Regions from separate parts of the Homo sapiens genome. Here region 2 is linked to region 1. Evidence: promoter capture Hi-C in 16 types of primary human blood cells and fetal thymus (Javierre and others, 2016). All regions are on one chromosome and are shown on one strand. Each heading gives the region's core, a stretch centred on a gene start or on the middle of the fragment in contact. The rest is flanking DNA. Distances are from core to core; before and after follow the strand shown.

Region 1 (4,338 bases), core at 970-3,469:
CTAGGCCTCCTACACCTTTTCTTTTAAACAAACATTCCATTTTTGTTGTCACAGGTTTGGATTTACATTGTTTCTTTTGAGGAGCTTTAAAAGAATTATTTTCAAAGTCATTTTGTGTATCTTTTTTGAGTTAGGCAGAAAGTAAATAAAAATCTACACTATTCATGTTATGTAATTTCAGCATTTCAGAGAATGTTTGTCTTTAGATATTTTTGCTTGAGAATAAACGGTACTGCCACTTGTTTGTGCTCTTTTCTTGACATACACCGTAAATCTGACATTCAGTGTGTCATCCTATTTGTATATGTTCTTTTTCACATTGTAAAGCCAAGTGGCCAACAATTAAGAATTTGAAGTCTTAGAAATCAGTTATAATTCCTTCACAATGTGGTAGTCCCAGAGTAACATCTGTAAGTGAAACAAAATAAAAATTTAAATATCTTCATCTTTAAAAATTGGAAATCTTGGGGCATTTAGGGGAGGATGAGTAGGTGTAATGTTGATTAGTATGATAAGATAACTTTAAAAAACATAACACTTATAGACTGTGGATTTAACAGTTTAGGGCTCCTAATGCGTTATTATGATTCATCTCCACATTCAGAGACTTTACATTTGTAGTTAAATGTTTGAATATTTGACTGGCTGCTGCTTTTCCTTTTAGTTGTTACATTATATGCCACTCTAGGAGGTCCAGCCATTGTTCATGCATTAAATGAAACAGAGGTGACCAACATCATTACTAGTAAAGAACTCTTACAAACAAAGTTGAAGGTGAGGACTCTAGTTACTTTCTAACTGTCTGATACTTTAGAATTTTCAGTGTCATGAGCCCTATTATTGATACTTAGTTCTTTTATGACTTTTAAGTCCTTAATCTTTGTGGACTTTTATGAATATCATACTTTATTTTTTCCTTTAGAAAATAAAAAGTAGATTTTGTATATATTCATGTATAAGTAATCCAGAGTTATAAATTGTTAAGATGCCTATGTTTAAATTGAAGAAATTACGACTACTTTTTCTCTTATTGTGCTCATCTATTTTCTAGTTTACTTTTAGTAAATTTGTAATTTTGAAGGGTTATATTTTAAACTAGTAATTTTTATTTTACTTCTGAAGCATTAAGTAATTACAAGTTTTCAGAATTGTTTGGAAGTTAAAAAGGGAGACTTTTAATTATATTACAGTAAAAAGAGTTTCTTTGGTCTCTAGACAACTCCCAGAAATATCTGGGCTATTCTATATGGGGGAAGGAGGAGAAAATTCACATGTAAACTTGTTCAAAAAGAAAATTTTGAACAAGTTTGCATGTGAATTTTCTCCTCCTTCCCCCATATATTTTTATGTAGTCTCTTGAAAATATGAGGGGCTTCTGGTTTCTCTACAGTTTAGGCAACCTGTGTTTACATGCCCGTTTTATAAGGCAGTACCCTTCTTGATCAGGGTTTTACCAAAGGCCAAGGGTACACACAGTGAATCTAATGCTATAAAATAATAATTTAAATTCAGACCAATACTTAATCATCTGTAAAAAGTGATATTATGCCAGTGTACCCTTTCTTCTTTCTTTTTTGAGGCAAGAAATTACTTAATGATTCACCGAATATGGTAAACTAGTATTCTTATTCGCTAAGCTGCTTGAAAAATAATGAACGTGATGAATGTTGGTGTATTTCTAGGATATAGTTTCTTTGGTCCCACGCCTGCGGCACATCATCACTGTTGATGGAAAGCCACCGACCTGGTCCGAGTTCCCCAAGGGCATCATTGTGCATACCATGGCTGCAGTGGAGGCCCTGGGAGCCAAGGCCAGCATGGGTATGTTACACTTTTCTAATTCCTTACCTGTGCTTTCTGGTGACCACATTCTCCAGAATTATGCCAAAGTTTTGATTCTGAGGTTAGCTCAAATGACACATCAGTTTTCTAACATCAGTTAGGAAAACAGGTCCCTCTAGGTATACTTTCATCTTGTCTTTAAAGAAAGTTTTAAGGAAAAATATAAACATTAATTATTAATGTTTTAAAGGTAGTATTTATTTGAAATTTAAAATATTTTACATTCAGTTTTCATTTCTTTTTTATGGTGATAGTTTTGGGTGGTTTAAAGTTAGTTTATAAATAATGACATTTATCTTGTCCTATGTGAATTACCTGTAAGTGTTAACAGAGTGGCTAAACCTGGAGGCCTCCTTTTACTCCCTGTTCCAGTTCTTCCCTTTCCTGAGGTGAAAACCTTACCCTCCAACTAGCACACCTAGGCATGGTGACTCTACAAGTTCCTATTCTCAAAAAAGCGTCAGAAAATGTTAGCTAGTGTACTAGTGTTTAGAGATACTGCAAAAGCTGCTGGGATGCTGGGACTGCATTTCCTCTGTAGTTGGAAACCTAGTAATTAGATGTAAGCATTCACTCAACTCAAATTTTAGGCACCTGGAATTTGAGTGGTAGTGGGATATTTAGATGCAGATATATTGTGGACAGTGGTGTGTAAAAGTCTAGTACTCGAGTTATGTTTGGACTTAGAGATTTGGAAGCTAGAAGCAGTTAGGTTTTAATTATAGCTGTGGGAGTAGGGGGTGAGGTCACCAACAGGGAATGGTGGCTTCAGAGGCTACTAAGGACTAGTCAGAGAGGAAAGAAGAAAATATCTAGTAGTATGTGGTTCCTGGAAGCCAAGGGAAAGGAGATCTTGGTGAGTCATCAGCAGGATCAGGGGCTGCATGCAGAGGTCAGATGACACAAGGATTGTAATTTCCAAGAAGTGGTGGTGTTGGAGAAGGGTGCTGTGCATTGAAGGAGTGAAGGGCTGATTTGGAAGTAAAGACTTCCAAGTGTAAACATTATTTAAGAAATGTATCTTGACTGACAGGAGAGGAAGGGTATTCTATTGGGAGTACATTTAAATAATTTTTTCACACTCATTTAGAAGTTCACATGTAGAGTAGTTCTGGGAGTGGTTCAGACATATCAGCAATGCCAACCATGACCTATTTCTCTTTGTTCTTCTGCTGTGCCACCTCTATAGCTTCTCAGCTGTTGTCCTTAGGCTGGTACTCTTCTGATTTCAAATGGTTCACATCGTGTTTTAATGCAGGACTCTGAGTGTAACCAAGTTAGTCACCATTCTGAAGCAGTGAATAGTTTTTAGCAAACACCTAGATACTCTAGTCCAAAGCTACCTTTATTTCTTAGTTGAATTACTGGGATAATCTTGTCTCCCTGATACCTTTTTTCCCCTTGTAAAGTTAGTTAGCCACACAGCAGCCAAAGTGATCTTTTTTTTCACAGATAATAACATACTCCTGTTCAAAACAACATTGCTTTACATCCAGAACGTAATCCAGAGTTCTTCCCGTGGCCTTTGAGGTCCTATGTGTGGTCCCTGATAGCCACTTGACTATTGTTTCTTGCCACTCTTCCTCTTGCTCACTCTGTTCCAGCCACACTCCTTGCTGGTCTTTAGATATGCTGAGCACATTCCTACCTTTGGGTCTTTGCATTTGCTTATTTCCTTCTAATTAGAACACTCTTCTCCCAGTTCCAGGGTTTCCATGGCTCCCTTCCTCACTTTATTCAGGCCTTTGCTAAACGAAACTCTACAGAGACGGTCTCCAGGCTTTTCCATCCAAATAGCATCTATTGTCATCTTCTCACCTTGTCTTGCTTCAGTTTTCTTCATAGGTTAATCTGTTTGTATATCTCAATAGAATATATCTCCCATACGTGCAGGGACTTGATCTGTTTTGTTGATCTCAGTATAACTAATATTTGTTGAATTGAGTTAAATTAACTCAATTTGATTGAGTTATTTATTTGATGATAATGAAAAGAAATTGTTGATACAGCTGAATCTCATGAAAGTGTATGTGTGTGTTTTTTCTCTTCAATGCAGAAAACCAACCTCATAGCAAACCATTGCCCTCAGATATTGCAGTAATCATGTACACAAGTGGATCCACAGGACTTCCAAAGGGAGTCATGATCTCACATAGTAACATTATTGCTGGTATAACTGGGATGGCAGAAAGGATTCCAGAACTAGGGTATGTCATAGTAAAGTAACATTGAGTAGTTAAGTATTTATGTCTGTTATAATGTTAGCATTTGTGTCATTTTATTAATATATGGCTAAATTAGTCCCTCAGAGTCTGTTTGTAGTAGGCATTTCCTTAAAAAATAAAAAAGGACATTAAAATTAATGGCAAAATAGTTATAGTTGTGAGGTTGAAAATATATCATATAGATATATTTTAAAAAGTACAGAACTTAAATTTGTATAGTTGTAAATCCTTTGTTTTAATCAGCTTGTATTTGCTGCTGTAGTTTTTTTTA
Region 2 (4,338 bases), core at 571-3,070, 89 kb before region 1:
TACAAATGTAGTTGAATGTCAAATGGAATATTAACAACAGTAAAAACTGCCGGAGGAACTTTAGTGTGCATTCCTTCTGCTGTTTCATTTTGTTTTCACAATTTTGGGGAAAGCTTCTTTTGCCTTTTCCCATTGTTCCACCTGGAGGAACTTCCATTAGAATAATGCATTTATCTTAGAAGTGAGTTACTTAATGGTGATAGTGAGGATTCCACACCTAGTGGTGCATGTTCCTTGATTGTGTAAAATTAATTTACTTAAAAGCTGCAAGGCTGCATTCATCAGAGATTCATTCTCTTTCCTCTCTACCAGACCAGTGCAAGGCAGTGATTCCAGATAGGTGCACCTGCCAAGGTGCTCTGTCCTACAGTTCACACTGCGTGAGATGGGCTGGAATGTTAGCCAGCCCTGCCTTTGGCTACAGGTGTAAATTCATGTTCTCCCATCAACTGCCACTTTCCCTCCATCTGTCAACTCCCTGTGTCTTATGTCTCAGTTGCTTCAGAACTCCACAGAGGAAAAAGGAAGTGGTTTGTTTGTTTGTTTGTTTGTTTTGTTTTTTTGTTTTTTTGAGATGGAATCTTGCTCTGTCTTGCCCAGGATGGAGTGTAGTTGCGTGATCTCAGCTCACTGCAGCCTCCCCTTCCCGGGTTCAAGTGATTCTCCTTTCTCAGCCTCCCGAGTAGCTGGGACTGCAGGCGTGTGTCACCACGCCCAGCTAATTGTGTATTTTTAGTAGAGATGGGGTTTCACCATGTTGGCCAGGCTGGTCTCGAACTCCTTCTGACCTCAGGTGATCCGCCCGCCTTGGCCTCCCGAAGTGCTGGGATTACAGGTGTGAGCCACCGCACCCAGGCTTCCTCCTTTCTTATCTCTGACTTCTCTCTCACTCCTGCTACCTGGGATCACCACCGATTAAACTATACCTGCAATTGAGAGGCCAAGGCTGCTGGATGGCTTGACCCCAGGAGTTCAAGACCAGTCTGGGCAACATGGCAAAACCCCATCTCTACAAAAAAGTACAAACATTAGCTGGGCATGGTGCATGCGCCTGTAGTCCCAGCTGCTCGGGAGGCTGAGGTGGGAAGATCATCTGACCCTGGGGAGGTCGAGGCTGCAGCGAGCCAAGATCGCACCTCTGCACTCCAGCCTGGGCAACAGAATGAGACCCTGTCTTAAAAAATAAATAAATAAATAAATTATCTGCACTCAAATCCTGGCTCTGCTTTTGCAGAGACCCAAACTAAGTCAATGGCAAAAGAAGATGGGATATGTACCTATTTGGAAATTAATAAAAAAGAAAAGAAAAAAAGAATCTATCCAGGTGGAGCAGACTGCTCCCTTGAGATAGACACTCCCATCCCAGCCTATCTCAGCACACACAGCAGTCTTCCTCCTTGTCATTGCCCTTGTTTAGGTCTAGCTGTCATCACCTAGGGTAAAAATAAAGCCCCTTCTTCCTCAAAACCATGCCTGTGAATCCTCGCCTTTTCTCACAGCCTGGGCTTATTATCCAGCTTCATTCTTAATTTGCGCTGTTCACTAGAATCAAGCAACTAGTTCAAGTTTAAAACAGTCTCTTATAACTGTGAGCAAACGTCAAGATCTTACTTGAGCTGAGTTATGAATACAGTGTCAAGTTCCTCTGTTGGCTTATCCTGACTTCAAACTGTTAAAGAGTATTTTCTGGCACTTACTGCTATCCTTTCCCCATTTTAGACAATAGGCTTTTTCTTTTTCTTTTTTTTTGAGGTGGAGTCTTGCCCTGTCACCCAGGCTGGAGATCTTTGCTCACTGCAACCTCCACCTCGCAGGTTTGAGTGATCCTCCCACCTTAGCCTCCTGAGTAGCTGGGATTACAGGCACTCGCCACCATGTCTAACTAATTTTTGCATTTTCAGTAGAGACGAGGTTTCGCCATGCTGGCCAGGCTGGTCTCGAACTCCTGACCTCAGGTGATCCACCTGCCTCGATCTCCCGAAGTGCTGGGATTATAGGCATGAGCCACCACGTCTGGCCATGGCTTTTTCTTTTAGATCCTAACCCTTAAGTTTTCCCTAGACCACTCTTCCTCTTCATTCTTTAGTTTGGGTTATTGCCATTGGGTACCTTTTAGGGTTTTTGTAGATACACACACACACACACACACACACACACACACACACACACACACACAGAGAGATAATCATGCATCATTTAATGGTAGGGATAAGCTCTGAGAAAGGCATCATTAGGTGATTTTATAGTTGTGCAAACATCATAGCATGTACTTACACAGACCTTAGTGTTATAGCCTACTGTGCACCTGTGCACAGGATATATGGTGTAACCTATTGCTGCTAGGCTACAACCCCGTATAGCATGTTAAAAACACAGATCCCAAACCATATCAGATGGGCTGCCACACAGGTGCAAAAGGCCCCATTTCACAGAGAGCCCTGAAGCTGGATGGCTCTTCAGAGTTGTCCCAATGCTCGGCCTTGATGAGCTCCTGACAGACCAGTCGTTGGATGCAGGCTGCTCTGGAAAGAGATGGTGACCTTGGGTGTGGCGGGTTGACTCAGTCCAGGTAATTCCTAAAGAGGGCTGACAGCTGAGAGCTGTTGGCTTCCAACATTCCCAGCAGCTGAGGAAATAAATCCTTCATCCCCGAAGGAGGGAGTAGGAATCTGGGAAGCGTGGCACCTGGAAGTCTACACTCTTCCACTCCTAAGTCTCTACCAATCACTAAATCCTCACCCTAATCTCTGCCTAGAGATCTTCAGGTTAAAAATCAGAGATCTAGCATCGTCTCAAAAAACAAACAGAAAAACTTGTAAAAATTCTGGTACCAGATAGTCCTTTTTTCTTTTTTTTTTTTTTTTTTTGAGACAGAGTTTTGTTCTTGTTGCCCAGGCTGGAGTGCAATGGTATGATCTCAGCTCACTGCAACCTCCACATCTCGGGTTCAAGATATTCTCCTGCCTCAGCCTCCCAAGTAGCTGGGATTACAGGCACGCGCCACCACACCTGGCCAATTTTGTATTTTTAGTAGAGATGGGGTTTCTCCATGTTGGCCAGGCTGGTCTCAAACTCCTGACCTCAGGTGATCCACCTGCTTTGGCCTCCCAAAGTGCTGGGATTACAGGCGTGAGCCACGGCGCCCAGCCAATAGTCCTATTTTCTTAAGAAAAGCCCTTTTTTTAAATGATGTCTGATGTTCAGACATCAACCCTTTTATTTGTAAATTAACGTCTATGTTCCAAAACACATTTCCGATGCCCTAAGCATTCTTTTCCAGATGCACCAAACTTTGTGAAATCTGTAGGAAATGAAAACTTGATTTCAAAAATAAACCTTGAAGCAATTTGAAAATAAAGAGGACATTCCATTTGAACCAATGCTAAGAGTTAAGCAGACCCACAGGTGCTGTGAACAAAAGTTCTTCAGAGTTCTTCAGAATTCGAAAAGATTGTAATAACAGATATCCTAGAGTGTGTGGCAGAATTTTAAAGTAGCTTAAGGAATACTCAGCAGGCTTCCAGCTAAAAGCTTATATGTTCTTTTTTCCCCTGAATTTAGAGTACATTCTAGGACCATTCAGACTTTATGAATTGATGTGAAGTCAGGGATGCAAGCCCACCTGAGGGTATGAACAACTCAATGTTAAGTCAGAGTTTGGGGCCGGACGTGGTGGCTCACACTTGTAATCCCAGCACTTTGGGAGGCCGAGGCAGGCGGATCACCTGAGGTCAGGAGTTCAAGACCACCCTGGCCAACATGGTGAAACCCCGTCTCTACTAAAAAAATACAAAAAATTCGGCACGGTGGTGCTTGCCTGTAGTCTCAGGTACTCAGGAGGCTGAGGCAGGAGAATTGCTTGAACTCGGGAGGCAGAGGTTGCAGTGAGCCAAGATCACACGACTGCACTCCTGCCTGGGCAACAGAGCGAGACTCTGTCTCAAAAAAGAAAATAAAAAGTCACTGACTGTTAGGGGTGGGCTGTGTTCTGCCTCCCCTCCACAAAAGATATGTTGGAGTCATAATCCCTTGTACCTCAGGATGTGACCTTATTGGGAGATACAGTTTTTACAGAGGTAATCAGGTTAAGATGAAGTCACTAGTGTGAAACCTAATCCAGTATCACTGGTGTCCTTATAGAATAGAGGAATTTGGACACAGAGTCACCATCTACAAGCCAAGAAACCCCTGAGGGTATTAGAAGCTGGGAGAGAGGATGCGAAACAGATTCTGTCTTATATTCCCCAAAAGGAACCAATCCTGCTGCCACCTTGATTTCAAACTTGTAGCCTCCAGAACTGAGACAATATATTTCTACTGTTTAAGCCACCCAGCTGG

What was found. Contacts are between HindIII fragments. The CHiCAGO score rates a contact against its expected background, and 5 or more counts as called.
Region 2: a contact is called between a fragment that was not itself captured here and the fragment with the promoter of ACSL3-AS1 in region 1, in 1 of 17 cell types (neutrophils). The highest score is 5.5, in neutrophils.

What each region holds. Positions count from the first base shown.
Region 1 is chr2:222,917,382-222,921,719 of GRCh38, forward strand. ACSL3-AS1 (ACSL3 antisense RNA 1) reads right to left here and starts at 2,220. Exons shown (of 3, transcript XR_923949.3): 1 at 2,158-2,220; 2 at 1,849-1,978; 3 at 1-408. It overlaps ACSL3 (acyl-CoA synthetase long chain family member 3), which reads left to right. Exons shown (of 17, transcript NM_004457.5): 6 at 665-774; 7 at 1,683-1,821; 8 at 3,899-4,049. The HindIII fragment of the contact is 9,982 bases long and covers 1-4,338 here.
Region 2 is chr2:222,828,962-222,833,299 of GRCh38, forward strand. No RefSeq gene overlaps it. Among named protein-coding and RNA genes, the nearest start is that of ACSL3, 30 kb to the right of the region's middle. The HindIII fragment of the contact is 3,418 bases long and covers 112-3,529 here.